Linked DNA regions of Homo sapiens: region 2 is linked to region 1. The links are contacts of gene promoters, found by promoter capture Hi-C in human tissues and cell types (Jung and others, 2019). All regions are on one chromosome and are shown on one strand. The core of a region is centred on a gene start or on the middle of the fragment in contact, and the rest is flanking DNA. Distances in the headings are between cores, read along the strand shown. Region 1 holds the start of ADRA1B (adrenoceptor alpha 1B). Region 2 holds the start of LINC01847 (long intergenic non-protein coding RNA 1847).

Evidence for each region. The method cuts DNA at HindIII sites, captures the fragments that hold promoters and counts their contacts. A contact is called where the count stands out against the background at its distance.
Region 2: a fragment that was not itself captured here is called in contact with the fragment with the promoter of ADRA1B in region 1 in 2 of the 25 tissues and cell types used here (aorta and heart left ventricle).

Annotation. Positions count from the first base shown.
Region 1 is chr5:159,914,294-159,920,276 of GRCh38, reverse strand. ADRA1B (adrenoceptor alpha 1B) reads right to left here and starts at 3,795. Exons shown (of 2, transcript NM_000679.4): 1 at 2,423-3,795. The coding sequence starts at 3,371. RefSeq lists enhancers at 2,605-3,221, 3,222-3,838 and a silencer at 3,902-3,961. The HindIII fragment of the contact is 5,190 bases long and covers 1,396-5,983 here.
Region 2 is chr5:159,867,617-159,873,599 of GRCh38, reverse strand. It overlaps LINC01847 (long intergenic non-protein coding RNA 1847), which reads left to right and starts at 2,216. Exons shown (of 3, transcript NR_109891.1): 1 at 2,216-5,742. It also overlaps a transcript of ADRA1B not described here. The HindIII fragment of the contact is 5,117 bases long and covers 490-5,606 here.

The DNA.
Region 1 (5,983 bases), core at 2,546-5,045:
AAAGGTCTGAGATTGGCAGCATTTAAAACCCTGGCTTCCAGGGTGCTGGGCCTGAAGGAAACTGAGAAATTTTCTGGCCAGTGATTCTCAAAGCCTGGTCTGTGGACTACCTCTTCAGAATCACCTGGTGGGCTGATTATACCTGCAGATTCCTGGTATCCTTCTGACTTACTGAATCCTATTTGCTGGGGGTTCGGCCCAGGCAGCTACCATTGTTTATGAAGTTTCACAAGTGATTCTGATAGTTCTCAAAGTTTGAGATCCCTTAATCTAATTCAACCTCCTCGTTCTCCAGGTGTGAGGCCTGAAGCCTAGAGAAGCAAAGCAGCAAGCCTAGAGCCACAGAGCTAATTGATGGCAAAGCTCAAATGGGAACTCTGTTGCTCCTGATCACCAGAGCCGTGTTCTTCCCATTTGAATATGCTGGAAGCCTCCTTACCTGTTTGGAGCTATTTCCCCTGCCCCTAAAAGCCAAAGCCTGCACCTTTGATCCATTCCTGCATCCTGCTGAGGCCTTCTCCTTCCTGAGCATGCTCTGGTCACAGCCTCTGCAGGCTGGAGGCCAGGGGCAAAGGAAGAAAGACTCAATTCTCTTCCAAGACTTTAGTAACAGGTGTGGGATTGGCAAATGTGTAGAGAAGGAGAAAAGACACAGTTATACCGAAGGGGAGATTGGGGTTTGGTTTGTACTGCTCATAGCTAACTTTCATTGAGCATCTGCTATACACCAGATACTGTGCTAAGTCCTTCCTATACATTAATGCAAACTCCATGGAGCAAATATTAATCAGCCCTGTTTTGTAGACGAAGAAACTGAGGCTCATACAGGAGTGGTCATTTGGCCAAGGTCATATGGCTAATAAGAGGCCAAATCACCTCCATCAGCTCCATGTACAACCATGATCTTTGTAATGACCCAATGCAGTGTGAACTGTCATCCACTGTAAACCGAACAAGCCTGCAAAAGAACCCTGAGACCTTGGGAAAGAAAAGCAAGCTTCCCTGCAATGGTATGTGATCACGCCTGGGGAGTAGAACTTTTTCAAACCCTTTCTGCTTAACACTAACCATTGAAAATATTTCTGAAAGGCATTAGCCTGCAGGCCTGCTTTAGAAAAGATGACATGGAGAAAAGGTTAGACGGCTTTTGAAAATCTTTTTCTTTCTTTTTAAATGGAAACTCGATATCTGTTTGCTTCCTTTCTGTTTGCATTTTTCTCTTGAAAGCAGTGTGCCTTCAGAATTTATAGCTGTTTGAGGGATTTGGTTATATTTGGGTCTGACCTGAGACTCCGGTGTGATTGCAGGCATATGTGGTCCGCAGTATAGCAGCTGTTACCTCTCCTGATATCATGGCACATGACTGTGTCATGATAAACTCCCTCCATTCATTTTCTGTAGTGTCCCCCAGGGATAGGAGAAGGAATCAAAGCAGATCAGTGCCTCAGAGGAAGGACAAGGGATCCCCAGGCCATGTGGACAGCATGTGACAGATGCCCCCCTTTAGGTTTACCTGCTAACCAGACCTTGGCTTCTTCCTTAGAAAACATCAGGTAGCCTTTTGAACAATTCAGTTAGTAGGACCACCAAACAAAAAGAAGACGAACATGTTTTCATAAGAGGGGGAGGACGCACTGAATTCCATCTTACCAGGATTTGGTCTCTGTCAGCTGAGATGAGGGACAACTATAATTTGATTCTGGGCATTCCATAAATCACTAGAGTTAGAAACATTTTTGGGTAAAAACTAAAAATGTGTGACCCTCTAGTCATCTTCTCTTTCACATCTCAAGCTTTCAATAACTTAAAGGCTGGTTGGGGCTGTGTGGCTGTAAAATGCTCTTATTAACGGATAATGAACGTAGTATATCTGGGTGATAGCTGTCAGTGAAGAGGGGAGGGAGAGAATGCAGCCTCTGCAAAGCTCTTGAGAAGCGTGGCTTCTGCTCTAGCCCTGGAAATGCTGAATGAATGCTGCCTTTCTGTGTACGAGCTGCCTCCCTGCTTCCCAAATGCCGCGTCTGCAGTAACTACAAACTATTTTGTATGCTGCATTAGTGACGCTGCCTTAGCCGACACATCATTACTACTGAAATAACGCCGGTGTGATATTCAAGCCCAGTGAATATCCTTTTTAATTATTAAACCGAGGCTGTTGAGTGAGTCATTCCTCATACCAGATTTTCCTTCCCTGGTTCTATTTCCAGAAGCTAGTGCCTTAGCGTGTTCTACTAACACCTGAGTTGGTTTTTAGCCAGCTCCCCAATCTGCAAACCCTTTGCAGAACAAACAATATTATTCAATCTCCGAACACGCACAGACTGCATAAGAAACAAAACCCACAAAAAACTTTAGAGTAAGCTCATCAGTAAACCCAAGGTCCAAAAATGCCCAGTCCCCCTGCTGCTAGTCCCCAACTTACCAAGCGGTAGAGCGATGAAGAAGGGTAGCCAGCACAAGATGAACATACCGACCACAATGCCCAACGTCTTAGCTGCTTTCTTTTCCCTGGAGAACTTAAAAAGTTTGACAGCTATGGAACTCCTGGGGTTGTGGCCCTTGGCCTTGGTACTGCTAAGGGTGTCCTCGTGAAAGTTCTTGGAATGGATCCTCAGGGTCAGCTCCTTGGAGTTGGACATCTCCTTCATGACTCCTGCCTCTAGGTTCTTGGTGGTTCTCTTGGCCACTATATAGACACGGCAGTACATGACTAGAATGACCGCCAGAGGGATGTAGAAGGAGCCCAGAGAGGAGAAGAGGGCATAGAAGGGTTCTTCGGTGACCCCGCACTCCTTGTCATCGTTGGGTGCCGGCTCCTTCCACCCAAGGAGAGGCCCGATGGAGATGACGGTGGACAAGACCCAGACACTGAGCAGCGCCAAGATGGCCTTCCTCCGGGTGACCAGCGTGGGATACTGCAGAGAGTAGCGCACCCCGATGTAGCGATCGATGGAGATGGCGCACAGGCTCAGAATGGACGCTGTGCAGCACAGGACATCCACGGCTGCCCAGATGTCACAGAAGATCCGCCCCAGCACCCAGTAGCCGAGCACCTCTAGGGCCGCTGAGAAGGGCAGGACGGTGAAGCTCAACAGCAGGTCGGCCATGGCCAGGTTGACAATGAAGTAGTTGGTGGGCGTCCGCAGGTGCCGGTTGCAGGCCACAGACAAGATGACTAGGATGTTGCCCACGATGGCAAAGAGGATGAAGGCGCCCAGCACCAGGCCCACAGAGATGGCCCTGGTGATGTCCAGCTGGGGCAGTGTGGAGTTGCTCGAGGTCTGGTTGGGGCCAGTGAAGTTGGCATTTTTCAACTCTCCCCAGTGGGCAGGTGCTGATGTGTTGTGGCCGGTGTCCAGGTCGGGATTCATCTTAGAGTCCGCCCTCCATAGCCAGGGGGATGATTGGGCTCGGAAGGGCTGCGGCGAAGGCTCCTCAGCTGCCCTGAAACTTTGCTTCCCCCGTGGTCTTCTTCCCAGAGGCGCCCTCCTGGCGAGGAGTCATCTCCCCCGGGCAGCCCAGCCCGGCAGCACGTCTCCTGCCTGCACCGAGTCGCTCGCTCGCCTGTCAGAGGGAGGAGGAGGAGGAGAGGGGACGAGGCGGCAGCTCCAAGTTTAATGGTCCACGTCAGGCGCGCCTGGCCGGGCTCGCGGGGGAGCGGCGGGGAGGAGGGGGCGGCAGGGCCGGGGGCGCCCGGCGGTGCCCAGCTCGCTCGGGTCTGCGGACCGCGGCGCGTCCTCCGCCCAGCGAGCGCCGAAGAGGGTCTGCTTTCAATGAGCCGCTTCTGGGCTGACTGCACGGCGGTGACATCAGGCGGGGGAGCCCGGCGCCCTGACTCCGCGCGGCACTAGGGGGCAATGCGGGTCCAGCCAAGGCGCCCGCAGCCCCGACGCCGCCACCCCGCAAGCCGGGAAGCCAGCCGCGTCCCCCGCCGCTCCCAGGGCGCGCCCTCTGCGGGGGGCGGGGCGGGGGCAGGGGCCGCGAGGGCGGGACCTGGGCGTGGAGATCGCGGGTCACCCACCCCTAGGCGGCCCGCTGGGGTTATTTTCCCCGCTAGTCACTCTTCCGTGTCAAAGGTGGGTTGGGGGCTGCTTACCTTTAATAGGGGGCTCCCGGAGTGGGCCCCGGATTTAACGGGATATGCAACTTGTCCAGCACCTAAAAGAGGGAAAGAGAATTCTAGGATTGGGCAGGTGGGAGGGACTTGAGTCGGATCTGAGGCCAGCCCTCATCCTTCATCTGGCTCCCCTCGCCCCGTGCAAACTCTTTGGCCCCAGTAAAATCTGGCTTCTCTTCATCCTTTCATTCGCTCAGGCATTCACTCATTTATTCAGCCGATTCTTACGGAGTCTCCACTCTCTGCCCTGGCTCTGGGCGCTGTGAACATAGCAACTGAACAAAATAGACGGACTCCTGCCCTATAGGAGCGTAGCTTCTCCCGACAGAAGACAGACAGTATACTAAATAAGCAAATGATGAGGTGTGTAATGTGATGACAGGTGTTAGGCTGAAAATAAAGTAAGGAGGGGGAAATGCAGTGGGGTGTTTGTGGGGTGGATTTGAAATGTTAAGTGGGTGCTTGGGATGTCACTGAAGTGATATTTGAGGAAACATGAAGGGAATTGAGGGAGGAAGCTAGCTGGCTATCTGGGAGTGGGGGTGAGGGAGGTCAGAGACCTGGGGAAGGGACGTAGAGGATCTTGGTTATTTGTTGAGTTTTTTCCTTTCTGTCTGATATCCATGTTGGACATTCAGTCACAGGGACGCACTCCCAAAGGTGGGTGAATGGTACTTAGAAGAGAAAGTATGGGCCAAGAAAGAAAGAAAGAAAAAGCCAAAGAACTTTATGTTAGTTCACATTTATCCAACATTTATTTTGTCCTAGACAGTGTGCTGAGTTCTTTTTGCATTTTCTCATGACTCTCATGAGAGAAAGAATACACTCTTCACCATTTCTATTTCATGGATGAGACACCAAATTATGGGGAAGTTTAGCTGTTCGCCCAAGTTCACAAAGGCATGGAGGAGAGCTGCTGGGAACTGAACTCAACTGTGGGGTCTCTCCCAAAGTTGGGTACTCAGCTACTGTGTCATACTTTTCCCCCGGGGCAAGGTAGGGGATGGAACCACTGTTATAGATGGAGCTGCCTTTTGAGTAGTTAATTTTGGGGCCTGAGCCACTGGTGCTGGGCAGGGACTCCCATGAATTGAGCGCTTACTGATAGCCATGCATTTACTCAGTTTCTTTGAGACTTTACAATTCTTTGAGAGAAGCATAACCATTGTTCATTGAGAGATGAGAAACAGTGGTTCAGAGAGAGTCAGTTGATTCCTGAGGTCATAGGCTAGCAAATATATGGCAGAGCAATGGGCAGTGGCAGCTGGAGATTGAAAAGTAAAGCCTGATACCTTCTTTTACTCCAGTTCACAAGCCTGCATCTTGGGTTTCTCACCTTCTGCTCTTGATACTTGTTATAACTTGATATTCACGGGTGGGGAAAACAGAAGTCACTCAGGATGACTTACATCTAAGCTTCTCAACCTAGAGGTAAGCTCTTAACCTCTTTTTATTTTTATTTTTTGAGAAGGGAGGCAGGTGGTTATCATACACGTATCGAAGGTTTTAATTTACTCCCAGCAAAGTGCACAGACTCCACACATGTGCAAAATACACAATTTCAGGGGGTTTCCCTCGGGTTAAGAAATCTGTGGTAGAGACAGTCCTGAAAATGGATTATTTTCTATTATAATTAAATTGCCCTAAGCTGTATTTGAAGATTTGATAATAAGAGATTCACAAGTTTATAGTGATTTAGATCTTCAGAAGCTCTCAGAACCTTGGTTTGCTTATCTTCCTGTGTTGGAGGTGGTGCACTAGGGAAAGAGACTTGGCAAGATGGTCAGGAGCAGAGCTGGTTAGGAAACTCTGTTTCCCTGGCCTACAGGACAGTGCTCCTTCTGCTCCTGCAGCCACTCATGACCT
Region 2 (5,983 bases), core at 1,799-4,298, 46 kb after region 1:
GTTGTTAGGGATCGGCACTTGGGGAAGGGAGAGGAAACAGGATTGAACAGAGGCAGAAGTTGAACTGTGATGTTTATTAGAGTTGTCCTCAGTGAGCTGAAAAGACTGAGCCTTTATCAGTGATTGGGTATGTGCTGTCAGGGAAGGGTACTCTCCTGGGCAAGGTGGCTCTCTGCAGCTGAGGCTGCCAAGCTCATGCTGACAGCTGGAGTGTCTGCTGATGGCACTTGCAGCAGCGGACTCAGTGGGTTCTTTCCTGAAGGAGGCTGGAGCCCTGCAACTCTGTGCCCTTCAAAAAGCCCAGATCTTGGGTATAAACCCAAAGGATTATAAATCATTCTGCTGTAAAGACACATGCATACTTATGTTTATTGCAGCACTATTTACAATACCAAGGACTTGGAACAAACCTAAATGCCTATCAATGATAGACTGGATAAAGAAAATGTGGCACATATACACTATGGAATACTATGCAGCCATAAAAAAGAATGAATTCATGTCCTTTGCAGGGACATGGATGAAGCTAGAAACCATCATTCTCCACAAACTAACACAGGAACAGAAAACCAAACACCGCATATTCTCACTCATAGGTGGGAGTTGAACAATGAGAACACATGGACATAGGGAGGGGAACATCACACACTGGGGCCTGTTTGGGGGTGGGGGGCAAGGGGAGGGAGAGCATTAGGACAAATATCTAATGCATGTGGGGCTTAAAACCTAGATGATGGGTTGATAGGTGCAGCAAACCACCACGGCACATGTATACCTATGTAACAAACCTGAACGTTTTGCACATGTATCCCAGAATTTTTTTTATAAAAGCCCAGATCTTGAATCCAAGGAAGGTTTTATTGCAGATTTCAGAGCCATGAAACTGCCTCTCAGGACCTTGGTCTATCTCTTGACCAAGCAGTCAGACAAAGCAAGTGAAATTTCTATGATGGTAGTGAGAGCCAGGCAAGACTGGCAAGACCTCAGGCTTATGATTCAGACAGACCTGGATTCAAAGTCCACACTCATACTCACCAGTTGCATGACTCTAGGCAATCACATCACCTTCTCTGAGCTCCATGTCCCTTTCTGTAAAATGGGGATAATAATAGTTTGCTGGTCCAGGGCCCACTTGTCTTCCCATAGTGTCTTTCCCTTCCCACCTCTGTTCTGTATCACAGGGATCTTATCTCTGCAAGCTGTAGCTCCCAGGCTCCTGCATCAGCTGGCTTCTAGCTGAGTTTGGCCAATGATATTTTGGGGACAAGAAGAAGCAGCTAGTTAGGGCATTTCTCCCTCCCTGCTTCAGGTGGTGTCCCCAGCAGCAGCTGCATCTCTGCAAGCAAGAGCACTCATTAACATAGACACACTCAAAAGGCCACATGTGCAATTTCTAACAATGTTGACGAGCCAGTGCCTTAATTATTTTATTATTTTAAAATAAGGTTATTTTATTTGATTAATCATGAGAGTATTTTAATCTTATAAGATTATTTTAGTTGATTAATCGTCACTCATGTAGAGGATATGATACAAGTTGGGCATTTTGATTAGGACATGAAAAAGCAATGTTGGAGTTTATCAAGTTTATCAAAGCTTATTGTCCTGCAGGATCCCTCATGAGTACATAAAGTAGTAGGGAAGGGCTCCAGGGTGTCAGAGAGGAACAGTAAGGCAGAGGAGGAGACCCTGCAGAGAGATGTTTAAATAGCATGTAAGTAAAAGTTGCCACCATCACAACTCTAAAGAGAACTATAACCTCAAAGTCATTCAAAATTGGCATTCAAAGACTGTCAAAACAGGGCTTCAATCTACTTTTAAAATTCTCTTTCTTAGACTTTGTATTGGGTTGAATAGCAGATCTCCAAAAGATACGTCTAAGTCCTAACCCCACCCCACCACCCCAGTACCTGTGAATGTGACTTTAATGGAAATGGGGCTTTTGAAGATGTTAAGAATCTTGAGATGAGATGATTCTAGATTTAGGGTGGGCCCTAAGCTCAAGGAGTGTTGTCCTTATAAAATAAAAGAGAGGGAGAGTTGAGACATAAGGACACAGGGGAGGAGCTGCAAGCCAAGGAATTAGAATCACTAGAAGCTGGAAGAGGCAAAGGATGGAATCTCTTGTAGAGCCTCCACAGGAAGTGTGGCCCTGCTGACCCCTTGATTTTTAGACTTCTGCTCTCCAAAAGGAACCATGAGAGAATAAACTTCTGTTGCATTAAGTCATCGAGTTTGTGGTGCTTTGTTATGGGAGCCTTAGAGACCAATATAGACCCCAACTTCCAGTTATAATGGGCCACTGAGCTGTTTCCTGAATAGCCCAGCTGTTTGCTGACCTCGGGTTTTTAACCATGTTGCATTGGACACATTATTATATTTATATTTAATGCAAGCACAGTTAACTATTTAGTTGGCAAAAAATAACATGAATAGACTGAGGGAGGCTGAGAGCAGAGCAAATTGATGGCTAAGCTGCTAGGGACAGCTCTGTCTGCTTTTCCATGCTGAATGGTGAGTGCTGCCCTGCAGGTTGCAGGAAACATGGCCACAACTACTCCTCCTCACCTCTTCTATGGTCTTCCCACAGGATGAGCATCTCATCACAACATGTGTGAGTCCAATGTGGAAGATTTCATGGTTTTCATACAACTTGGCCCCTTAAAGCAAGCTCACGAATTCAGCTGAAGCAACAACAATTGATTTTGGGACTACAGGACACAGTGACTGTATTGGATTTCTTGAGAGACAGTGTCATTTTCCAACACAGTCTCTCATAAGGGATTTTCAAGGGAACTTTTGACTATCCTCTATTTATGACTTTTTTTGGCTTTATGCATTGATTTTAGAACACAAATGCTGAATAAGATTTGATTCCTTTGCGTTCACTTTGCTTAGAATCCCCCAGCATACTTTAACATGCCACTTTTTCCAACAACTTCTCCCTTCACACCCGGATTGGTGCTGAATTTCTAACTTCTTCAAAATTCCATAGCATTTCCCTCCATCACTCCCATGTATCTTCACTTACAGGAGTTTATACACACATCAGCTTCCCTTGCAGAATTTTTTGACATTGGGGGCTACATATCTTTGAATCTCCCATAGGCCAGTGGATCATTGAATGAATGGTTGGATGGATGGATGGATTTATTGATGTTTATAGATTTCAGAGAAAAATTAAATGGAATCTAATAGCTAAAGCAAAGAGAGCTTGTCTACATTTACACTGCCAGTGTGAGTCTTGATGCACAAACTGGGAATCAGATTGCCAGGTGATGCCACACTCTTGCAGATAGATGGCTTGCTTTCTCTGTGGACTTAAAATAAGTCAAGCGTGAGGCCACTCCTCTAAATCACTGGTACAGGGATGCGTCTATACTGCAACTCAGCCTAAGTGTCAGTTCCTCAGAGAACCCTTCCCTGTACCTCCGAGTCTAGATGAGTCTCCTTCCTCTCTGTTATATGCTATCATGGAATTCTCTTTTTTCCCTTCATAGCATTGTCACATTTTGAAACTATTTGTTTCTGTGACTTTTTGTTTACTGTCTTTTACACCCTCCAACCTCTTGGCTGACTTTAAACTCAAGAAACGTAGGATTGATGTCTGTTTTCTTAACCATGGTAATCCAGTGTCTAGCCCAGTGCCTGCCATTGGCTGCAATATATTACAGCAGTAACATATCACATATTACTGCTACTAATGTCTAATATTAATTGACTATGTATTATGTGCCAGACACTGTTCAAAACTGCTTTACATAAATCATCTCCTTTTATCTTCACAATAACTCTCTGAAGCAGGAGCGATTATTATTCCCATTTTGTAGATGAGGAGACTGAGATACAGGGACACTAACTGGTTCAAGGTATCACAGCTAGGAAGTAGCACAGTGGAGACTTAAACCCAGGGATGCCAGCCCCAAAGTCAGGAAGTGTTCACTAATGTATGTTGAATAAATGAATGAATCATGATCAATATTACTGTGTATCTTCTGGACTAATTGCCTAGCCAGTGCAAACATGTCTTCTACAACTATTCTAAGAGTTAGTTCTCCAGATCGTTCTGAAATACTTCTTGCAATGGGATTCATTAGCTTTTCCAGTGAGCAACTCTAATAACTAGGATGATCTTCATTACATAAAACTGAAATCCACTTCTGTGGTAATTTTACCTGTGGACACCTGTTCTGCTCTCAGTAGTTTAAAAGAACTTTAGTTCCTCTCATATAGCTCTGATAAGAGTTTTCACTTAGATGACAGCCTATGTTCCAGCTATATCTCCAGATTCTGGCCAAACCATAGTGTACTGCTATACCTGTTAAACTGAGGCATCCACACCTGGATAGAAGGCTTTCCAGGAATGGTTTGTCCAGGGTGGAATAGAGTAGGAGTATTCAGCTCTGTAACCCTGGGGACTGACATGATGCTTGTTGAATTGAAATGAAATGCTTTCATAGTGGTAATAATAATCTCTTTACTTTGTAGTTGAAAATTACAAAATATGTATGTGTGCCCGATTTCAGTTGGTTTTTCTCTACAATATGTTGTTTAATCTCTGCTGCCTTTTTGATTTGAGGCTTCAGGATATTAGAGCTATAAGCAACATGAGAGATGCTCTGAGGTCCAGAGAGGTTGAATGGTTTGCTTAGAGTCAAGTTAAGTTTCCTTTTAAAACTGATAATTTCTGGAAACTATGTCCTTCTTCCTATGATCTCCCATGAACCTGATGGGTTTCCTGCCCTCTGGTCCTTTTCAGTATATTGACTGTGGTCAAAATAGTGTTGGCAATGAACTTTCTATCATTGGAGGTGTATGAACTGATAATGAGTTGGCTTTTGAGTAAGGATGTTGTACCTACAACAACAGCTGAGACATCTAATGAGTATTGGTCTAAATGATCTTTCAGGTAATGTAACCTCTGGCCTTACAAAAACTATGCCACCCATAGACTGCATAGGGATCAGGTAGAGTTTTAGCCACAAAGCTTTCAAGACTTCTATCCACCAAATCGTTTCTGAATATAGCAACCTAGTTTCTCACCATAACTGGTAGGAGCCAAGATCATCATCCTTCAATACTGAAACACTACCAAAAATATACAAGTTTTCAACACTGATTCTCAATACCTTGTGGAAACTTCCCAAGACCTTTTGTCCCAATCCTATTTATTCTTCACACCTAGCTCAACTCTTGTTTACTCTGAGTATCCTTTCTCAATCCTCTCAATTAGAATGAATCCTTCCCTCCCATATTTCCCCATAGGAAATTGTAACTCTCCTATAAAACTTATCAAAGTCTGCCTTATATTATGCATCTTTTCCCATTTCATTGAGCAATCAGCACTGATTTATTTGTACATAATTTATTATCATTATTAACCATGTACCAAGCCAAGTACTTTACTTGTTTTGCCTTTTTGTTTTGTCTTTACCTTATTTATTCTTTGCAATGACCCTATGTGGTAGGTGTTTACAATATCACCATTTTACATATGAGGAAACTGAGGCTGGGAAGTTAGTCATCTTCCTAAAATTACATGGTAAGTTGGTGCCAGAGCTGGGCTCACAAATTCTTATAGAACAGAGGCCATGATTCTTCTCTCTCAGTCCCTAGAATTTTACTTTGTTTGCAATGGGTGTTTAATAGTTTTTTTTTCTGTTGCTTATAGACACAGATCCAGAACACGTGAGACCACACTTGTGGTGAAGAAAGCCTGCGGTTCCAGAGAATCAAAGCCAGGTAGATAAGCTGGCAATTGGATCAAGGTGAAAGCAGTTCTTCCATTGAGTTAGGCGAGCACTCAGGAGCTCTATTATGACAGGGACTCTCTGACATCTGTCATCATGTGGTCAAAGGAAATAATGGAAAGTAAAGAACAGTGGTCTCCATCTTTGATTTCAGTCTTGGGTGGAATAAGAGATGGAAAACTTTTATTGTCTTAGCAGTTGGTTTGAGAATTCTTTCTGAGGAGACATCCACC